Regions from separate parts of the Homo sapiens genome. Here region 2 is linked to region 1. The links are contacts of gene promoters, found by promoter capture Hi-C in human tissues and cell types (Jung and others, 2019). All regions are on one chromosome and are shown on one strand. Each heading gives the region's core, a stretch centred on a gene start or on the middle of the fragment in contact. The rest is flanking DNA. Distances are from core to core; before and after follow the strand shown.

What was found. The method cuts DNA at HindIII sites, captures the fragments that hold promoters and counts their contacts. A contact is called where the count stands out against the background at its distance.
Region 2: a fragment that was not itself captured here is called in contact with the fragment with the promoter of SYT10 in region 1 in 1 of the 25 tissues and cell types used here (H1 embryonic stem cells).

What each region holds. Positions count from the first base shown.
Region 1 is chr12:33,438,452-33,441,534 of GRCh38, forward strand. SYT10 (synaptotagmin 10) reads right to left here and starts at 1,368. Exons shown (of 7, transcript NM_198992.4): 1 at 921-1,368. The coding sequence starts at 1,071. RefSeq lists an enhancer at 279-1,095. The HindIII fragment of the contact is 9,708 bases long and covers 1-3,083 here.
Region 2 is chr12:32,940,376-32,943,888 of GRCh38, forward strand. No RefSeq gene overlaps it. Among named protein-coding and RNA genes, the nearest start is that of PKP2, 45 kb to the left of the region's middle. The HindIII fragment of the contact is 6,625 bases long and covers 1-3,513 here.

The DNA.
Region 1 (3,083 bases), core at 118-2,617:
GGCTGGACACACCAACCTTTTCCCCAACCGTGACCCAAACAGTGGCTTGGATTCGATCCTTTCCACCCCCAAGCCTTGAGGAAAATCCACTTGAGACTTTTTTCCATCTCCAGATTTCCGACGGTCGATATCCTCCTGCATCCAGCCCATTTCCTAGTTTCCTGAAGGGTAGGGAGGACGTCTGTGAGTTGGATGTCTGAGAGCGTGCGTGTGCTAGGGATTTTAAACGTCTCCCCTCTCTTCCACTTCTTCGATATGTGCTCTGAGCTTTAGGTGTCGCCTCACAAATGGGATCAATAATCCTTGTTTTACCAACTTTGTCATGAAACCCTAGAAAATCATATATATTAAAAGGGCTTTAGAAATTGTCAGGTGCCCGACAGGTTGCAGCCGCGGGTTACCTCGGAGGCCAAGGCAGCCACCTCTGCAAGGGAGTTCTGCGTCCAAGCATGGCTTGTCCGTCCCGCCTGGCCCCCATCAACAAGGCCGGGACCAGCGGCCGGTGGAACGAGCGAGAGCAGCCCTAGTCCCACAGGTGAGCCGCCCCCACAAGCAGCCAAGCCGCGAGCCGTCCCGGCGCCGTCACCGCCCGCACTCACTTCTCCACTCCGGGAGGGAGATGGGAGGCGTGGGAGAACGCGGAGAGGCGCGGCGAGGCTGGGAGCGGGAGACGGCGCCGGGAGGCGGGAAGCGGACCAGAGAATGGGAGAAGCCCGGCAGGTGGACAGGAGGAAACAAAACCCAAACGCCCCACCCTCGAAGTCGTCAGGAGCTGAGCGAAGGAAGGAGCGAGGTAGGAAAGCGTGGCGCCCCAAATATGCCGCGGGAGCGGCGCGGGAGGCGCAGAACCCCGGAGCTTGCAGCCTAGCGCGCGGGGTCCCAGCGGAGCGCGAGGACGCGAGCGGAGCCCTCCCGGTTACCTGTGCTGCTTCCGCCCTGGCTGCCCCTGTCCCGAGGGAAGATGCCCGAGCACTTCTCCCACTCCACCTGGCCGGCGAAGCACAGCTCGGTGACGATGTGCAGAGCCTTCTGGCACAGACTGTTCACTCCGTCCTCCTTGTGGAAACTCATCGTTTGGCTTTTCTTTCGTTTTCTCTTTTTTTCCCAGTTAGCCGTCTTTTCCTCTTCCCGTACCTCTAACCCCTCTGGCGCCCTAAGCCATAGTCCGCCCGCGGTGACTTTGGCTGGAGATTGCGCCGCTGAGAGCCGGCAACTCTTAGGAGCCCCACGTTGGCCCCATGGCGGGAGCGGAGGGCGTAGGGGAAGGAGAGGCGCGCGAGGAGGCTGCGGCTGCCGCGAGGTTTGCGCCAACTCTCCCGCCGCGCGAGCGAGCCGAGGCGCGCTGGAACTAGAGACCCGGCATGGAGTGCTGAGGGGAGGGGGGAGCCGTAAAAAAGCCAAAGCAAGCCCTCGACTCGCAAGCACGCCCCCCTCCTCTCCCCAGCGCACTGGTGTTTCTGGCGGGTGCCTGGCGGCGACGCGTCCAATCGCAGCCCGGCGCGGGCGCTAGGTGACAGGCGGCGGAGCGCGCAGACCCGGCTCCCCGCGTCCTCTGAAGAAGGGACTCGCGAGGGAGGGAGGGAGGGAGGGCGGGCGGCCCGGCGCCCCTGCCGAGGCCGGGGATGCTCATCGTTGCCCAGAGTTGGCCCGAGGAGCCCTCTCCGTTTTCCCAATACTTTTCCCTGCATCAGTGCAGCCATCCCCGCCGCCTTTGTCTCTCCAACTTTTCCACGGATGTATTCTACTTTCTGTGCTATCTGCTTCTGCCCTTCTGGAAAAGTCATCCCAATCGAAGAAAAACTGAAAAAGTTAATTAGAAAAAAGAATGCGTGAATAAGCAAACCCTCTTAGGTAGATCACAAAATAAAATGTTATTTGTACTAATAATCAGATAAGATTCTGTCGATTAATCCGTAATTGGCGATTGAGAATGCACAACTTGACTCCCTCCATCTCCTTTCTTAGCGACTTAAAACAAGACATGGGTGTTAAAGGGAACAGGATTAAGTTCAAATCTGTCACACATCTCAGCCTAACCTTGAAGTTGTTTTCAGGTCTTGGCGATCCTCCTACTTCAGCCTCCCTAGTAGCTAGGACTCCAGGGACTCCAGGCGCTATTTTTTTTTTTTAAACTTATTGTAAAGACAAGGATCTCACTATGGTGCCCTGGCTGGTCTCGAACTCCTGGGCTCAATCAATCCTACCGCCTTAGCTTCCCAAAATGCTGGCACTAGCCACCACGGCCGGCCTGCTTTCGGGTCTTTGCCTGAGTCTGTAAAATGGGAGATTTGGACTCGGATGTCTTAAGCTCACCTGTTTTTATAATTCTTTAATGCAAATGGGTGCAAATCAGTAGAACTAAAGCGACAAAATAATAAACATGGGCTTCAGGATATAATATGTTTATATGGTTTTTAAACTGTTTTCGGGCAGAGTTTGATCCCATATCATAACCTGAGGATTGATTTAACCCTCTTGTGATGAGGGATTCTTTATTTTTGAAGTGGGATACATTGAACTTGTTAGCGTGTCTATGCTAGTAGAATAAGTAGTCTTTTTTAAAAACAGCTAATCAGTTCATGGTAAATTATTTGCTTTGCACAGGACTATGGTAAACCTAGTATAAATATTAGGCATAGCACTCCAGTAGGGAAGCATTCATTAGTTGAATCATTTTGACCTGATCCATAGGACGATTGGTTTAACTAGGACTATTTTTACCACGAATTAAGACAAACTAAAATCTGCAGGCTTCATTTGGTTTTTGTCTTTATGCACACTGACTTGGGTGGTTTTTAAGTCAAATTGTCTAAAGAAATAATTTCACTGTCAATCAAAAAATATTAAACATCTACTGTATGCACAAAACTAAATAACACACTTTAATAAGGCCCTTTCCAATTGCCTTTTGCCCCCCATTCTGCTACAGTCTACACAGACAGACCGGTAGAAAACAGCCTGCAATGCAATGCTGTACTTTCATATTTACCATATGAACTAATTGCTGTGTAGGAGGACCAAATGAGTAATTATCTTTATACTACTTACAGATTCTAATTGCTTAAGTGGAGTAATGCAGAAGG
Region 2 (3,513 bases), core at 409-2,908, 500 kb before region 1:
ACTCCATTTGTATGTAAATTTAGATTCCTGTTAGTGCCTATGTTAGACACTGAAAAAGTGTTCCCAATTAAGCATGGAGGGGTGGTAAAGTTCTTACTTAGTAAAGTAAGAAAATCTTAATCTTGCGAATAGAGTCAAACATGTATGATATAGTTTGGATATTTGTCCGTGCCCAAATCTCATGTTGAATTGTAATCTCCAGTGCTGGAGGTGGGGCCTGGTGGGAAGGAAGTGCTTGGGTCATGGGAGTGGATCCCTCATGGCTTGGTGCTGTCTTGGAGATAGAGAGTGAGTTCTCTGGAGACCTGGTTGTTGTAAAGTGTGGCATCTCCCCCTCCACTCTCTCTCTCTCTCTTGCACCTGCTTTCCCAATGTGATGTGCCTGCTCTCCCTCCTGCACCTTCTGCCATGATTGTAAGCTTTCTGTGGCCTCCCTAGAAGCTGAACAGATGCCAGCACCATGCTTCCTGTAAAGCCTGCAGAACCATGAGCCAATTAAACCCCTTTTTAAGATAAATTACCCAGTCTCAGGTATTTCTCTCTTTCTTTCTTTTTTCTTTCTTTTTTATTTTTTGAGACACAGTCTGGCTTTGTTGCCCAGGCTGGAGGGCAGTGGCATGATCTTGGCTCACTGCAACCTCTGCCTCCTGGGCTCAAGTGTTATAAAAGCTTATTTAACAATTTACCTCTGGCTGATATTGTTTGTTTTGTTTGTTTGTTTTTTTAATTTTGAGACAGGGTCTTGCTTTGTTGCCCAGACTGGTCTTGAACTCCTGGGATCAAGTGATCCTCCCTTCTCAGGTGGGATTACAGGCATGCACCACTGTGTCCAACTTGACGTAATTCTTTTTTTTTTTTCTTTCCTGAGACAGGGTTTTGCTCTTGTTGCTCAGGCTGGAGTGCAATGGCATGATCTGGGCTCACTGCAACCTCCGCCTCCCAGGTTCAAGTGATTCTCCTGCCTCAGCCTCCCTAGTAGCTGGGATTACAGGGATGTGCCACCACGCTCGGCTAATTTTGTATTTTTAGTAGAGACAGGGTTTCTCCATGTTGGTCAGGCTGGCCTCAAACTCCCGACCTCAGGTGATCTGCCCGCCTCGGCCTCCCAAAGTGCTGGGATTACAGGCATGAGCCACCGCACCCGGCCCATAATTCTTTTAAATATGTATTTTGCTGGGTGCGGTGGCTCACGCCTGTAATCCCCGCACTTTGGGAGGCTGAGGTGGGAAGATCACGTGAGTCCAGGAGTTTGAGACCAGCCTGGGCAACTTGGTGAAACCCGTCTCTACTAAACATACAAAAATTAGCCAGGCGTGATGGTGCCTGCCTGTGGCCCCAGCTACTCAGGAGGCTGAGGTGGGAAGATTACCTGAGCCCAGGAGGTCGAGGCTGCAGTGGGCTGTGACTGTGCCACTGTACTCCAGCCTGGGTGACGGAGTGAGACCCTGTCTCAAATGAATAAATAAATAAAATTAAAAATAAATAAATAAATAAATGAATAAGTGTTTCAGCATTGGAAATAAATCTGGTGGTAAGCTAAGTGTACATTGATTTCTGCAACTGAGTTCTTACTATGGGTTAGGCAATATTATAGGCAGGATAACATGTGGAGAATAAGACAGACAAGGCCTCTAATTTACAGTCTATATTCTAGGGGTGCTATTGGTAATGAAGTATATAATAGTCAGTGAATATACAGTGTAATCTGTTATGACATTATTCCCAGAATCCCTGTCTAGGAATCATTGAAAAGGAATTACATTTTCTAGACATGGGCATTAGCAGAATGCTGGACTTAACAATATTTTCTCATGTGACAATAGGCAAGTTTCTTCCTCTCTATCTCAAAATTTCTTTTAGAGAATAATCTATTTTCCATTCATCATAATTTTAAAATGGACTATCATTAGGGCCTTTAATTCTTTAATTTGTAGGCTGGCAATGGAGACTGGTTAGGACCTATATTAAATGATAGTCCACAGGCCACATGATGCTTGTTTATCAATTGGTAGATTTTATTTTACCTTTAATAATCACCATCAGGAGGTTTCCTTTTTTTTTTTTTTTTTTGAGATGGAGTCTCGCTCTGTTGCCTAGGCTGGAGTGCAGTAGCACGATATTGGCTGACTGCAACCTCCACCTCCTGGGTTCAAGCGATTCTGCATCAGCCTCACGAATAGCTGGGATTACAGGCGCATGCCACCACGCCCGGCTAATTTTTGTATTTTTAGTAAAGTTGGGGTTTCATCATGTTGACCAGGCTGGTCTCGAACTCCTGACCTCAAGTGATCTGACCTGCCTCCGCTGTTTAAAGTGCTGGGATTACAGGAGTGAGCCACCATGCCGGGCAGGAGGTTTCCTTTTTAAAAAACATTTTAAATGGCTACAGGCATGTGCCGCCATGCTTGTCTAGTTAAAAAAACAAACAAACAAAAAACATTTGGTCCAGCGCAGTGGCTCACGCCTGTAATCCCAGCACTTTGGGGGGCCGAGGTGGGCAGATCACGAGGTCAGGAGATTGAGACCATTCTGGCTAACACGGTGAAACCCCGTCTCTACTAAAAATACAAAAAAGAAAAAAAAAAGTTGGGCATAGTGGCAGGTGCCCGTAGTCCCAGCTACTTGGGAGGCTGAGGCAGGAGAATGGTGTGAACCCAGGAGGTGGATCTTGCAGTGAGCCAAGGTGGCGCCCCTGCACTCCAGCCCAGGCGACAGAGCAAGACTCCATCTCAAAAAAAAAAAAAAAAATTTTTTTTTAGAGATGATGTCTGCTATGTTGCCCAGCCTGCCAGACTGGTCTTGAACTCCTGGGCTCAAGTGACCCTCCTGCCTCAGACTCCAGAAGTGTTGGGATTACAGTCACGAACCACTGTGCCTGGCCAGGAGATTTCTTAAAAGAATATCCATGTCCAGTGGAAAGGGATAGGCAGCTAAGTCTTGAATAGTTAAAGTCTTAGTGTGCATACATTTTTTGATAAAAAATAATTGAATTACTTGTCATCTCATTACATTGAAATGAGGCACACATTCGTAAGTGCCTCATAAAGGAAAACCAGTAATGACAAGACATGAAATGTATTGAGTAATTTACCATACTCCAGGTACTCTGCATTTCAGTTTATTGACTCTTCACAACCACTGTAGGATTTAGGGACTATTATCAGTCCTGTTTTTCACATGAAGAAAGTGAGGCCCAGAGAGGGGTTAAGTAACTTTCTCAAATAAAAAATTTACTTGGCCATGCACAGTGGTTCTTTCCCGTAATCACAGCACTTCAGGAGGCTGAGGTGGGAGGATCGCTTGAGCCCAGGAGTTTGATACTAGCTTGGGCAACAACAACAAAAGTAGCTGGGCATGGTGGCATGTGCCTGTAGTTTCAGCTACTCAGGAGGCCGAGGCTGGAGGATTGCTTGTGCCCAGGGGGAGTGAGGCTGCCAGTGAGCCATGATCACAGCACTGTACTCCAGCCTGGGCAACAAAGCGAGACTCTGTCTCAAAAAATTTTTAAATGAT